Linked DNA regions of Homo sapiens: all the other regions are linked to region 1. The links are contacts of gene promoters, found by promoter capture Hi-C in blood cells and fetal thymus (Javierre and others, 2016). All regions are on one chromosome and are shown on one strand. The core of a region is centred on a gene start or on the middle of the fragment in contact, and the rest is flanking DNA. Distances in the headings are between cores, read along the strand shown.

Region 1 (3,648 bases), core at 192-2,691:
TGTTGCTCAGCAATCTCACAGCAAATTTGCCGAGCCTCTCCGGAATGCACAGCCAGACAGAGCTCAGCGCAAAAGCTAGAGAACCTGGCGGAGGGAGACTCACAGTGCCACAAAAAAACTTTATCTTTTCTTTTTTTTTTTCTTTTCTTTCTTTCTCTTTCTTTCTTGTCTTTCTGTCTTTCCTCTCTCTCTCTCTGTCTTTCTTTCCTCTCTTTCTTTCTTTTTTCCTACATGGCAAGATCTCCTCATGGCAGAAATAATCTGCCTTGACTTCTGTTTCCACGCTGCTTCTGCCAGGACCATGCGCTCGGCGTGTTTTTCTTTCCGCTATAATTATCCAGGCCCATCCCAGCTCTGGTCCCCTCAGCTGTTCCCTGGCAGTCCCTTCTGCTGGTGAAAACACATATGGCGCCGGCCTGACCAGGGTGTAAGTGTGTGAATATCAGGAAGATGACTGAACGTCTTTGGGACTCCGTTTCCTCATTGTAAAATGGAGGTTAATACCAGCCTTCTTCTACTCCCCAAACGCACGTGTTTGTCCCGGCCAGAGGGCCCAATTGTTGGCTGTTCACGCGTCAGTTACCCCCACAGGACGGGTCAGCCAATTAAAGGCGAACCAGGCCCGGTCCATCTCCTGACGCCTTTTCTCATCCCAGGGCTGGACAGGCAGCTGGCCTGGGCCCGGCTCTGCCTTGTCACGTGCGGGGGCCGGCCCGTTTGCTTGTCTGTGTGTAGGAGCGTGAGGTCACGCTGGGTGCTCCCGCCCCGCCGGGGCCTTTAGTGTCCTGGTCCCTAAACGCCAGGCCGCTCCACCGGGGGAGAAGGCGCGAACCCCAGCCGAGCCCAACGGCTGTTGTCGGTTGCCGGGCCACCTGTTGCTGCAGTTCTGATTGGTTCCTTCCCCCGACAACGCGGCGGCTGTAACCAATCGACAGCGAGGCCGGTCGCGAGGCCCCAGTCCCGCCCTGCAGGAGCCAGCCGCGCGCTCGCTCGCAGGAGGGTGGGTAGTTTGCCCAGCGTAGGGGGGCTGGGCCCATAAAAGAGGAAGTGCACTTAAGACACGGCCCCGCTGGACGCTGTTAGAAACCGTCCTGGCTGGGAAGGCAAGAGGTGTGTGACTGGACAAGACTTGTTTCTGGCGGTCAGTCTTGCCATCCTCACAGAGGTTGGCGGCCCGAGAGAGTGTGAGGCAGAGGCGGGGAGTGGCAAGGGAGTGACCATCTCGGGGAACGAAGGAGTAAACGCGGTGATGGGACGCACGGAAACGGGAGTGGAGAAAGTCATGGAGAGAACCCTAGGCGGGGCGGTCCCCGCGGAAAGGCGGCTGCTCCAGGGTCTCCGCACCCAAGTAGGAGCTGGCAGGCCCGGCCCCGCCCCGCAGGCCCCACCCCGGGCCCCGCCCCCGAGGCTTAAGCCGCGCCGCCGCCTGCGCGGAGCCCCACTGCGAAGCCCAGCTGCGCGCGCCTTGGGATTGACTGTCCACGCTCGCCCGGCTCGTCCGACGCGCCCTCCGCCAGCCGACAGACACAGCCGCACGCACTGCCGTGTTCTCCCTGCGGCTCGGTGAGCCTGGCCCCAGCCCTGCGCCCTTTGCGCCCCCCACGCTTGTTCTGCGTGCGCTGCCCGCTCTTCCATTTACCTTCTCTCCCACCCAAGTTTGTACTCTTTTCTTTCTCTCGGTTTTATTTTTTGTTTTTGTTTGTTTGTTTGAGACAGGCTTTCGCTCTGTCTCCCAGGCTGGAGTGCAGTGGCGCGATCTCGGCTCACTGCAGCCTCCACCTCCCAGGTTCAAGCGATCCGCCTGCCGAGTAGCTGGGATTACAGGCGCCCGCCACCACGCCTGGCTAATTTTTGTGTTTTGTAGAGATGGGGTTTCGCCATGTTGGCCAGGCTGGCCTCGAACTGCTGAGCTCAAGCAATCCGCCCGCCTCGGCCTCACAAAGTCCTAGAATTTTAGGCATGAGCCTCCGGGTCCGGCCTGTGCTAATCCTTTCTGTCCTTGGTTCTTTATTTCTCTTCTCTCTTTTTCTTAGTCCCTTTTGTTCTTTCCCTCTCCCGTTCAGTTGGCTGTCGTTTGAGCCTCCACCTTTTCACTCCCTCCTTTCCACCACGATGCCGAGCCCTGCCTTGGATGGGGACCATCAGCGATGACCACAATGACCTCTCCCTTACCAGGCAGCTCCAGGCAGTGTTCCTGCACCGCCTTTCCCAGGGCTTGGGGGCTTTTTCTAGTGGGCTTTGAGCTGCTCAATCTGGCCTCTGCAGGGCCGGCTCCCAGCCCTTCCAACCTCCTCACAGCCCGACCTGGGACCTAGCCAATTCCCGGAGAGTCTCTGTCCCATCGTGACCCCCTCACAACTCTCCCACTCACCAAAGTCTGATGACTGTGCTAGGGGGTGCTTATATAGAGTACTGAGTGTTACAAAAGCAGAAGTCTGGATGAGAACCAATTTGTGATATTAAGCAGGTGGGGTGGGGGTGGGGAGTGTACCTAGGTTCATTTTCCGCCCTGCTTTTCCCCTTTCCAGTGTGTGCACTTAACCAGTCCCTGGGCCCTGTTCCCCATCCCCCTCCAAGGCATGGATTGGGTGGGCTTGTGTGTCTTGGGGCAGGTGGCCCTTTCTAAACTCTCTGCCTTTGCTCACCCACAGGACACATAGTATGACCATTAGGTGTTTCGTCTCCCACCCATTTTCTATGGAAAACCAAGGGGATCGGGCCATGATAGCCACTGGCAGCTTTGAAGAACGGGACACCTTTAGAGAAGCTTGATCTTGGAGGCCTCACCGTGAGACCTTACAAAGCCGGGTAAGAGTCCAGTCCAAGGAAGAGGTCTCTTGCTGCCTCCTAACCCTGTGGTCTAGGGGCAGGAGTCAGCAGGGCATTAACAAAAATAATTACCATCCCCACCCCCGACAGTGAAGTGGCTCTTTCCAGTTCACAGAGCACTCTCACACCTCCCCGCTCTCATTCTGGCCCTTCAGCTGACTCGGACAAGCCAAGGATCTTGGTCCCCATTTTATAAAGGAGAAAACTGAGGCCCACGTGTAACAGTGATTGGCCCCAAGTCATCCCGGGAGCCAGCAGAAGAGCTAGGACAGGAACCTATTGTTCTAACTTCATATTGATGCTAGCTTTTGACTATCCCTGAAACCGAGATTGGTAATCAGCCCGGCTCTGAAACTGGTTATTTGCTGGGGACTGTAAAATAGGATTAACTATTTCTAGTCCTGCATTTTAATTGCTGTTAGTAGGGCCATCTTACCCACCCTCTGAAGGACCTGACTTGGCAAGCCCAAGGCAACATTCAGAATATGGCAGCTGAACCTCTGTGCACTTGTCTTTGGGCAGCAGCTGGGTCTTATTCTTCTCTGGCCTTCACAACATCCTGCAACCCAGCTCAAGGTCAGGAATGTGACAGACTCATGTCATCATATCTCTGATGCCCAGAGAAGGGATACCATTTGCCTGAGCCTTCTCAGTACTGTTTAATCAGCCTGTGAGAACTTTCCTTGTGAAAGGCCCTGTCTGTGCCTGGGGCTGATAAAACAGCAAGAACGAACTGAGGAGCTGGGCAGCAGTGCAAAGCAAATACTACCAGCTTTGGTGCCTGTAAGTGTGGCTCTTACTCATCTCACATGGAAATAA
Region 2 (3,648 bases), core at 535-3,034, 250 kb before region 1:
AAGGTTTTAGGACGACCCCGTAAGAAATTCTGCATGCTATTAAGTGCATCCATAGCTGTACCTGGATGTTAAACAAAAACTGTAACCACATATTTAACTTATTCTGAGCATTTACACTTACTGAGTCAACTACTATATATCTGCTCTTGATGACAGCAGAATTTAGTGATGCTCGCAGAGAAATAAAGATGGCCCTCAATAATTTTTGCCTCTGGGGTATTCACTTCTTTATGTCATGCCCTCACACTGAAGAGGATGACTTGTATTCACAAGCAGCAGTGTGACTTCTGAAGCTGGGTCAGAAAAGACATGGCAGCTTCTTTTTATATGATTAAATACAATTATGGGACATACATAGGATTGAAATATTATGCAGCCATAAAAAGATGTTAATGAAGAGTTTTTGATGACATGGAAAAATGGTTATCTTGTATAAACTTAAAAAAGATATAAAGACAGAGGGACATATTTCAAGATGAATGAAATCAACAATAAACTAAGACAAGGTAATAATCTACCAAGGATGTCTCTTATAAGTGAAATCCTGATTTGGTCAGTGCTAAGAAAACTCACCTTCTACAACATCAATCATGCACAGACCCAAGAGGCTTGGTACCAGGTTGGATGATGCTGTGTGGACTGCAATAGCACCACCCATGCTATGTCCAATCAGCATAATTGGAGGAGGAAGGTCCCCATACATGGCTTCAACCACATTGCCAACGTCTCTGCAAAGAGAAGAGAAAAAGATCTAAGAATGCTTTCTGACAACACTGTAAAAATGGTTTTCTTTCCCAGTTCCTTTCTTTGGTGTGTAACAGTGCTGGGAAACTGTAAAAGTCTATTGGGCCATCTTACAAACATACCTATGTAAACCTTCTAACATGTCCCCAGCATCAATATGTGTAGCCACACACCTAGCTCTCCTGATAAATGGCAGGTAAAGGACTAAGAACCCAAATTACTGAATTTTCCTTTACATCACACTTTCACTGTTCCACATATGTAGTACAATTACATAAACATATACCTTTATTTTGAACCTAAGATTGAAACTGGAAAAATCATTTAACTGCTCTGTTTCAATTTTCCCATCTATAAAACAAGAACAAAAATTTATTAAGCATTATAATGTAGTAAACCTCAGAATCACAAGATGAGCCCTAGCCTCAGTTTATTTTTCACTATGTGATCTTGGGTTAGTTACTTAATCTCTCAGAAACTGAGTTTCGACATCTATAAAAAAAGATAAAAATATCACTGACTGCTCTGGATTGCTTTGAGGATTAACTGAGAAGGGAACAAGAAAACACCTCGAAAGAGTAAAATGCTTCACAAATGTTAATTATTATTTACAATTTCTCATTTGTTTGAAGGATGAACATAAATGTAAGTACAGTGCTCTGAGAAACTAGAAAGGTGTTCAGAGCTCATTTTATTGGCTTTGGTTCTAATCTTCAATTATTAATGGACCTATTTAACAAAGTCTAATTTTAAAGCTTTGAAAATTAGAACTGAAGTATGAAGTTTGGTTTTTAATTGCATGTAGGCCTTCCTTGCTATAGCAATAGGTGGATAAGAACAGTAAGGTGTGTTTCTGGAGACCCACTGGCTCTACTGCCTTATTATATATATATATTTTTAGGCTAGTTCTACCCCCTTCTTTTGGGAGTGGCTGGTTCAACTTCAAAAGAAAGTTTTGTCTTGTTGAGTGTCACTGCATACCTTAAGCACTCACACAGTGTTAACCAAATATAGCAAGTGTCAAGGTAGGAACACAGACTTTCATATATAGTCTCTACAGTATTTATAATGGCAAAGGCAAATGTTATTAGTTCTGTAGGAACTGATTTTTAAAATCTCATACAACAACTGCAGGAGTGAATAGGGTAGCCTCGGCAATTGTAGACAATCTGAATGGGAGATAGGGAGGCCACCAAACTTTGTAAGTGAAAACAAATAGTTTAATATTCGTTCGACTTAAATTTAAGATTAAGACAGAAAGTGAAGCAGTTCAGGCAGTCATCCAAAGCGATAACAAATAGTTAAGACGAAAAGTCCAAGCTTCTTTGACACCAGTGCTGCTTCTATAGTAACACAAAATTCTCTCTGGGAGACAAAATGATATGAAGGAAAGAAAAGAGAACTAATACTTATTCAGTGCTTCTTTTTCAGTTGTGCTCTAAACTTTCTTATAACATCACCTAACGTAATCCTTCAGCAGCCCTGTCTAGAAGGTTCTGTATTAATCAATTAATCTCACTGGGTCTATAAAAATATTATTGCATTTTCTCACTGGGTCTATAAAAATATTATTGCATTTCTACCAAGTAAAAAGAGCTGCAGATTCTTGTTACCTCACTGAAACATATTTTCAATGTTTCAACGAGTTAACCAATTTATGCTAGTGTTCCACTACTGGAACACTAAGCATGTGGGAGTTATTTATATCCTACTGCCCAAGGTCATCACCAAGTTCTGATTGCAAAAATTCAAAAAATTGCAACCTCAGGCATAAATGGTAAAGCCATCTCCCCTTGGCATAGGGTAGTGTGAATTCAGAGTAATTTCATGAAGTCAAAACCATGATGCCTTTGCTCAGAGGCCACTGGAAAATATCAGGAACAAAGATTCGATAATATGTGGTCTTTAGAGTAGTAACACAGAGGAAATTATTACACATACAGTTTCTAAAAAATAAAACAGGTAGTATTCCAAAGCTAATTCTGCATATTAAAATAACAGACCAGAAAAAATTATATGCTCAATTAATTAATCTAAAACAATATTGGATACAATTTTGGGGGCAAACTGTTTTTTTTTTTTTAAAGAAAAGACTAAAGTTTAAAACATGTTTATATTAAATATCAACATGTAATTTCCAGAATAATTCTTGAACAATTCCAAGAAACTTTCGGTTGGTAACAGACAAATAATGAGTAAAATAAAAGGATGCTATGGACGATTATCTAAGTCCAAGTCACCTTAAAATACACATTAACTGAATTGAAGGGGTTCTGCAGTATCTGCCTCATGCACAAAGGTAGAGAGGTCTGAAACACACCAACTGAACATCGTGTCTGAGCTTAAGAAAGGCATATTTACCCAGGTAGAAGGTAGTTACGATCAATCACTTGATCATCTACCACCAAGAGAAATTTATTGTTATTAAAATCAAGCAGAGCATTCAGTCAACAAGTACCTTACTTGAGATAAGTCCTGAAAATCCAGAGAAATACAATAAAGATGAAGTAGCAAGGGTTACCTACAAATCTAGACTGTAACTGGATGTATTACAATTTTGGTGGATGCTTTTTAAAGGGATTCTGTCATATTTTAATGCTAGGTTAATTTTCTGAGAAGCATTACTGTGTATCACAGAAATTGGAATATCAGAATGACCCAAGCTCAAATTCTGGCTTTTTCACATACTTTCTTAGGTAGTATTTAGGTTCTGCAGTTGATAATAAGTATGCCCATTTTGAGGTTTTTTTTTTTCCACAGTAACTGAATTCAGAAATCACACAAATGTTTTACTGCTTGGATAATTTCAGCAAGAATCCAATTTGTTCGCCCTTTTGATTCTTGGTCATCATCTACTGTGGATGATTTTTACCATTAAAAAATTTTTTTGGTGCCAGTTATCAA
Region 3 (3,648 bases), core at 817-3,316, 210 kb before region 1:
AATGGGGGATATGATATTGGGACAACTGGATATCCACATGCAAAAGTACAAATCCAGACCCCTTCCTCACACCATATACATAATTAACTCAAAGTGTATCATAAACCTAAATACAAGAGCTAAAACTATAAAACTCTGAGAAGTAAAAAACGAGTAAAACTCTGTGATCTTAGGTTAGGCAACAATTTCTTAGATACAACACCCAAAGCAGAAGTGATAAAAAAGACACAGGACTTGAACTTCATTAAAATAAAATCCTTTTCATTAAACTATATGCCATTTTCATACTATGGCTACATACAGAGAGAAATAAGCATAGTTTCATGGATAAGAACATGGGCTCTGAAGTCAGATTCTTTTAGTCTAAATTTCATTTCCAATAATTACAAGCTATGTGACTGTTGGCAAATTAATCTGTCTCAATTTCTTCAACTGTAAGCTTTGCAAAGTGATTATTAGTAAGTACTTCCTGTTAGTCATTATAGAAACACTGTTTATAGTTGAGCCACATGGTATACCAATTGTACTTCTTGTACAACTTTTTGCTTTTTTCCAGAATAATTGTCTTTTTAATTTTGTTTGCTTAGTTTTCTATTAAAGTGTCACTAACTGTTTCCCAAAACTTTTTGATAGGCAAAAGACATTAATATGCTTTTCCCTAAGGAGGAAACACAAACAGCCCATAAAGATATGAAAAGGTTTCCAATTTAAGATACATAAAATTTAAATTACAGTGAAGTATCATATTTCACATCCATCATGTTGACAAAATATAGGAAGCCAGACATTAACAGGTATTAACAAGGAAACAGGGAAGATTATTTGGAAAACTGTAAGGCATCACCTAATAAAATTAGACAGGTGTCCTTCAACCTGGTAATTTTACTTTACAGAGAACCTCCTGCACATAGGCATCAAAACACACATATAAGAATGTTTGTAGACACATGTCTATAAAAGCAAAGAATAAGAAGCAAGCTAAATATGCATCACCAATAGAATATACAAACTGTGATGTATCTGGGTAATAGAATATAGCATAGCAGTGAAAATAAATTTAAAAGTACATGAATCTGAAAAATACTTAGAGAAAGAAATAAGCACAGAAGACTGAATCCTGTATAATTCCATTAATAATAGTGTTCAAAAACAGGCAAAGCTAAATAATGTATTTTTAATGTATACATGCACAAGTGGTAAAACAATAAAGAAAAGCCAGGCACTGATTATCATGCAATTCAATACCAGTGTGGGAAACAGAGATGCTCTCGAGGAGAGACAAACAGGTTTCTAAGGTGCTGATAATGTTTTATTTCTTAAGCTAGGTGACGGACACATGAGAATTTATTATTCTTTGAACTGTACATATATACTTTACTTTTCTGTATGAGTATTTCACAATTTTAAACAAATAAAGCCTTTGAATTCTGTAAAACTTCTCTTAATATTTGGTCATTCACATTAAATAATCTACCAGGTCTATTTTTCACTCAAATTTCCATTTCTGGCATCCTCCATTCATCTGCTCCAAATAGGACTGCCTGCTGTCTGATATAATGAACTGCTAACAATTTAGTATCATCTCAGGAATTCTTCTTGCCTTTCACCTGTGTTGAATCCCTTATCCCATATCCCATATTTTTCTTGTTGTAGTCTCTTATTTTGATGAAACACATCCTCCATCAGCTTCATGAGAAAGGGACATTAATTTTGAAACTTTGCATGTTGAAAATAGCGTTCCCCATTTTCACACAATGACTGACAGTCTGCCTGAGTATAGACATCTTATATTAGGGACTGCTTCTGTCTATGGTAATTAATAGATCCAACTTGAGAAATATTGGCTAAAATTATATGTAAGTATTTGTGTGAAAAATATTATATAAATAGATGTTATATTTATACAATCATAGTGTATAATTATTAAATAATTATATATAATGATCTTATATATTGTAATTATATAGTCATTCGTTCTTCTTAAACGCATAGATGAGCTGGCAAGAAAGTAAGGAACAGGGAAGACCCAGGTCAAAAGTTAAGTAAGGTGGGAATCCAGAGAGGCACTTAGACCATTAAATCTGGCTTTTACCTTGATGGCATTTGCCAACTGTCTGAACTTGAAGTTTTGCGATGCACACAGAACAGGACACAAAGCCCGAGGTGGGAAGTCTTGCTGCGGAGCCCAGTAGGAAACCTTTCTCCATCAAGCTGGGATCCCAAAGAATCATAAGCTCAGTGAAAGGCTGAAACAGAATTAACTTTCTGCTTCTTACCACAATCTCAGGATTAAATTAAAAAATAAAAAATAAAATAAAAAAAGGCCTGTCTTAAAACTTAGCATTGAGAAGGGAGAAGCAAGAAAAAACAAAGACAGCTCTCAAACTGATATGGAGCTAAATACATATCATTTACATATCCCAAGAAGTTTCAAGATGAGAATGTAAAGTGGATCCAACTGGTAGTGCCCTCAGGACCCCCAAGAGAAACAAAGGCAAATCCTCTTTGAAGAATCAATCTTCATTCTAGGACTAAGAACTTTAAGAAAGTTCCAAGGCAAATGACCATCTCACAATCAAAAAGCATAAAATACGTGAGGAAACAGACCTGTAAAGAGTTCACATAAAGAAATTATCAAATACAATATAAAATAACTGCTTAACACATTTAAATGAACAGAAACTTGAAACAAGCTCCTAGAATGAAAAGAATTAAAATTAAAAAACAAATAGTCAAGTTTAACATATTAGACACAGCTAAGGAGAAGCGTAAACTAGTAGTGAATTTGTTCAGATACATCTAGATACATTTAGAATCCAAAATACAAATAGAAGATGGAAAATACAAAAGTTAAGAAATATGAAGGGAAGAGTAAATAAGTCTTAAATATGTCAAACTGAAGTTCTGAAAGGAAATAAAGACAGTGAAATAAAAGCAGTATTTGAAGAGGCCGTACAGGTTGAGTATCCCTCATCCAAAATGCTTGGGACCAGAAGGGTTTCAAATTTCAGTTTATTGTTTCCTTTTTAATTTTGGATTATCTGCATATACACAATGAGATATCCTGGAGATGGGACCTAAGTCTAAACACACAATTCATTTATGTTTAATAAAGACCTTATACACATGGCCTGGAGGTAATTTTAAACAATGTTTTTAATAATTTTGTGCACAAAACAAAGTTTGTGTAAACTGAACCATCAGAAAGCAACGGTGTCACTATCTTAGCCACCCATGTGGAAAATCTATGGTTGTTTGGCATCACCATCATTCCTGATTGAACTTACACGTTACTAATAATCATTTTTATTACACTTATTCACACATAAGTACTTAACAGTAAAAGATACAACATACCATTAATACAGTGAAAAAACATAATGTACTCAGGGTAACCAACCAGCACAGTAACATCACAGAACACCTCTACCAGTTATTAAATAAAAGCAACAACCAACAATGGCAGGCTTTCAGTCTCCCACCTACAATGTTGTGTTTGATTAAAAAGTTACTGAACACGGTATTTTATTTTTTTAGGTGAGAAGAAACATCAGAAGCAGCTGAGGGATGTGTTAAGTCTGTTCTTGCTGTAACATAATACCTGAGACTGGGTAATTTATAAAAAGGTTTAACTGGCTAATGGTTCTG
Region 4 (3,648 bases), core at 855-3,354, 190 kb before region 1:
AAAAAAAAAAAAAAAAAAAGGACACTACACAGGTACCAGGAAAAAATATAAATGATTCCTTTATAACCCAAAAAAAGGAAAAGCCTTTCTGTGACTCAAGATCCAGAAGCAATACATGCTGGGAGGAAGGGAAGATGCTAATGAGTAACGAGTTTATGGGAGGATGAAAATGTTCTGCAATTAGTGGTGGTAATTGTACAACTGAGTGAATATACCAAAAATCACTGAATTGTACATTTAAAAGAGTGAATTCTATGGCATATAAATTTAACTTTTTAAAAATCTAATGAAAAAATAAAAAAAAAAACAGAAATACTGGGATTTGATTATTTTAGTAACTCAATTTGTGACCTTGAGCAAATCACTTCACTTTGCCCTTTATTTCCCCATCTGTGTGAATAGCTCATTAAAGCCTTCCTAAGAGGCCTGATATCCATAATAAATTTAAGAAGATGGATGAAAGACTATCTAATCAGATATGAATAAACATACAGCTTGTGGGGACAAAAAAGCTGATAACATAAGAAACTGAAAGGAGAGCTTCCACATAAACTATGAACCTTCTTCACAGTTCTCAATGTATAATTATCTACTAGCTATCATTCTTTAAGAGCTTATGTGTCAGTGTCAGGAACTATAAGTGCTTTTTATGTATTATCTTATTCTCACAGCACTCTCAGGTAAGCAGAAGTATTCTCATTTTAGAGATAAGAAAATAGACTATGAGAAGTTAAATGACTCGACCAATGTAAATACCTAAGTTGGGCTTCAAACTTAGATCTTTGTCACTTCAAATATCAAACCCTTCAATGCAAGCTATAGAAAGAACAATGGACTAAAAATACGAAGTCCTGGGTTTGAATGTTGTTCCTGCCACATAATGATTCTGTGATCTTAGGCAAGTCAATGAACATTTCAGTTTTCTCATTTATTAAAAGAAAATATTAACTCCTGCCCTAGTTTACCTCATAGAATATAAAAAGGGACTACTATATACATGTCAGTTAAATCACTACAGAGCTGGGCATGCTAGCATGTATCCTCAGTCCTACCTACTCAAGAGGATGAAGTGGGAAGACTGCTTGAGCCCACGAGTTTGAGGTTGTAATGCACCAAGATTATGCCTGTGAAAAGCCACTGTACTTCAGCCTGGGCAACACAGCAAGACTCTATCTCTTGCAAAAGAAAAAAAAAGGAATTTAAGAGATAATAATAGAAAAGTAGAACTTTTTTTTTTTTGAGATGGAGTTTCGCTCTTGTTGCCCTGGCTGGAGTGCAATGGCGCGATCTCGGCTCACCACAACCTCCGCCTCCCAGGTTCAAGTGATTCTCCTGCCTCAGCCTCCTGAGTAGCTGGGATTACAGGCATGTGCCACCACGCCAGCTAATTTTGTATTTTTAGGAGAGACGGTGTTTTTCTATGTTGGTCAGGCTGGTCTTGAACTCCCGACCTCAGGTGATCCACCCGCCTCGGCCTCCCAAAGTGCTGAGATTACAGGCATGAGCCACCACACCTGGCCAAAAAGTACAACTACTGATAAACCAAAAACACGTTGAATAATGAATGGCTTTAATATTTTATAGTTCCTCTAATAGTAATAGTATATACGAAAGCAGTGACTTTCAAAAGATACTTCTCTCAAGCACACCAGGGGTGCAAAGCAAATAGGGATCTCAAATCTACTTTAGTCAGAGTAGCTCTAAAAGCTTTAATAAAGAAGTTCAAAACCACTGTTTTTGGCAACATCCATTGGCATCTATTAAAAGGAAGAGTGACACCAGGATTTCAGGCCTTACCCAAGAGAAAATATTAGTGTACTGAAAAGTGAATGGATTCTAGAGACTAAACTTAGATTGAATCCTAGCTCTGCTACCTACTAGTTGGGTTACTTTTAATCTCTGGGTCTGAATGTCTTTACCCACAATGCAGGAAAATATTCACCATGCAGGTCTGTGGACACATTAAATAACATAAAGTTACCATTACAATGTCTGGCACACAGTACTTACTTTAAAAATTGCTATTATTAAATTATCCAACAATACTTTGGAATTACTAAATCTAATCTGAAAAACTGAATTATGGAAACTCATGAAAAATCACCAACTCAGAATATGCACCCTGAATATGCAAACATGCCTAAATAATGTTTAGTGAAATTGAAGGCAAGAGATCATGAAAAATAGTTAAGAGTAAGCCACACAAGAGACTATCAAGAGAACAGGACTAACTTGTGAGTAACATAGATAGAGTGGAAGAATGGAAGTTAAGAAAAAAGCAAGTAAGCATAAGGAGACATAAAGAATGCTTTGAAATTGGTGTGAGACTTCATAAATTACGACTGAAGAAAAAGACTGAATCCTAGATTATATGCAAATGAGTAAGATACACAACTCAAAATAAGTATCCCCAGATGACAATTATGACTCCAAAATACACAATGGGTCTCACAGTCAAGAGACCCAAGTCCTAGTCCTTAACGGCCCTACCGCTAAGCTTCTAGGGTACCTTAGGAATATCTGAGTCTCAGTTCCCTCATTTATTAATACATTCCCTTATAGAATACAGAACTCTCTGAATATTGGGTTCCTCAACTACATGAAGTGGTGAAATGAGACCATGTCTATGCTTTCTCTCAGCTTTATGATTCTAAGGAGAAAGAGAATCTATATTATTACTACCATGAGACTTAGATGAAGCCTGCTTATATACCAATAAAGTAGAAAAGAAAGATACGGGAAAATAAGCCATTTGAGGACCACACAAATATTCGCCAATATATGCTCTTCTCTTCACAATACTATCATAAAGAAAGGCCTTTCTAAAGAACTTTCTTTTCCAGGATAAGCAGTTAACCTAAACCAAGAAGACCAAAGCATCTTTTTAAAAAGGTAAGTTGTCCAGGCACAGTAGCTCACTCCTATAATCCCAGTACTTTGGGAAGCCAAGTGGGGCAGATCACTTAAGGCCAGGAGTTTAAGACCAGCCTGGCCAACATGGCGAAATCCCCTCTCTACTAAAAATACAAAAATTAGCCGGGCGTGGTGGTGCATGCCTGTAATCCCAGCTACTTGGGAGGCTGAGGCACAAGAATCACTTGAGCCCGGGAGGTGGAAGTTGCAGTGAGCCGAGATTGTGCCACTGCACTCTAGCCTGGGCAACAGAGTGAGACTCTGTCTCTAAAAAAAAATAAAATGAAAAGTAATAAAAAATAAAAACGATAAATTACTAACAATTATACAATCTTCTAATCAGCAGATTTTCCTTTTTTTTTCTCTCAGTATCTTCATTCAGTTCTTCAATCTTCAGAGAACTTGTTTCTCCAAGATGAGAAGCTGAGCTCTAATTAAGCTTATCTAAGGAATGTATAATTATTAAAAATCTGATTTTCTTATGTATTTGTATAGAAGGGTGCTGGTATACTGAAAAATCAAATTTATTTTAAGAAAGGCAGCAACTAAGATATTTAACAACAATTAATGTTACATTAATATTAAACTCCAGGTTAGTTTTCCCAAATAATGTTATGGGTCAGTTTCCAAATTCTCTTTATTCATGTTATAGTCCAACTTTTCTGTCTTCCAAAGCCAAAACAATCTTCACTTTACCTTCTATGTAGCCTTCTACCTCTATTGTGCGTCTATCTC

What was found. Contacts are between HindIII fragments. The CHiCAGO score rates a contact against its expected background, and 5 or more counts as called.
Region 2: a contact is called between a fragment that was not itself captured here and the fragment with the promoter of UCP2 in region 1, in 1 of 17 cell types (erythroblasts). The highest score is 6.8, in erythroblasts.
Region 3: a fragment that was not itself captured here is called in contact with the fragment with the promoter of UCP2 in region 1 in 1 of 17 cell types (erythroblasts); the score reaches 5.0 in erythroblasts.
Region 4: a fragment that was not itself captured here is called in contact with the fragment with the promoter of UCP2 in region 1 in 9 of 17 cell types (erythroblasts, megakaryocytes, fetal thymus and 6 more); the score reaches 12.8 in erythroblasts.

Annotation. Positions count from the first base shown.
Region 1 is chr11:73,980,636-73,984,283 of GRCh38, reverse strand. It overlaps UCP2 (uncoupling protein 2), which reads left to right and starts at 1,441. Exons shown (of 8, transcript NM_003355.3): 1 at 1,441-1,563; 2 at 2,652-2,808. RefSeq lists an enhancer at 104-604 and silencers at 861-1,020, 1,321-1,530. The HindIII fragment of the contact is 10,071 bases long and covers 1-2,769 here.
Region 2 is chr11:74,227,325-74,230,972 of GRCh38, reverse strand. PPME1 (protein phosphatase methylesterase 1) reads right to left here. Exons shown (of 14, transcript NM_016147.3): 6 at 574-728; 7 at 1-61. Among named protein-coding and RNA genes, the nearest start is that of PPME1, 58 kb to the right of the region's middle. The HindIII fragment of the contact is 565 bases long and covers 1,502-2,066 here.
Region 3 is chr11:74,192,855-74,196,502 of GRCh38, reverse strand. The region is part of intron 1 of PPME1 (protein phosphatase methylesterase 1); the gene reads right to left. Among named protein-coding and RNA genes, the nearest start is that of PPME1, 23 kb to the right of the region's middle. The HindIII fragment of the contact is 3,249 bases long and covers 442-3,648 here.
Region 4 is chr11:74,173,093-74,176,740 of GRCh38, reverse strand. All of the region lies in intron 1 of PPME1 (protein phosphatase methylesterase 1), which reads right to left. Among named protein-coding and RNA genes, the nearest start is that of PPME1, 3.6 kb to the right of the region's middle. The HindIII fragment of the contact is 790 bases long and covers 1,710-2,499 here.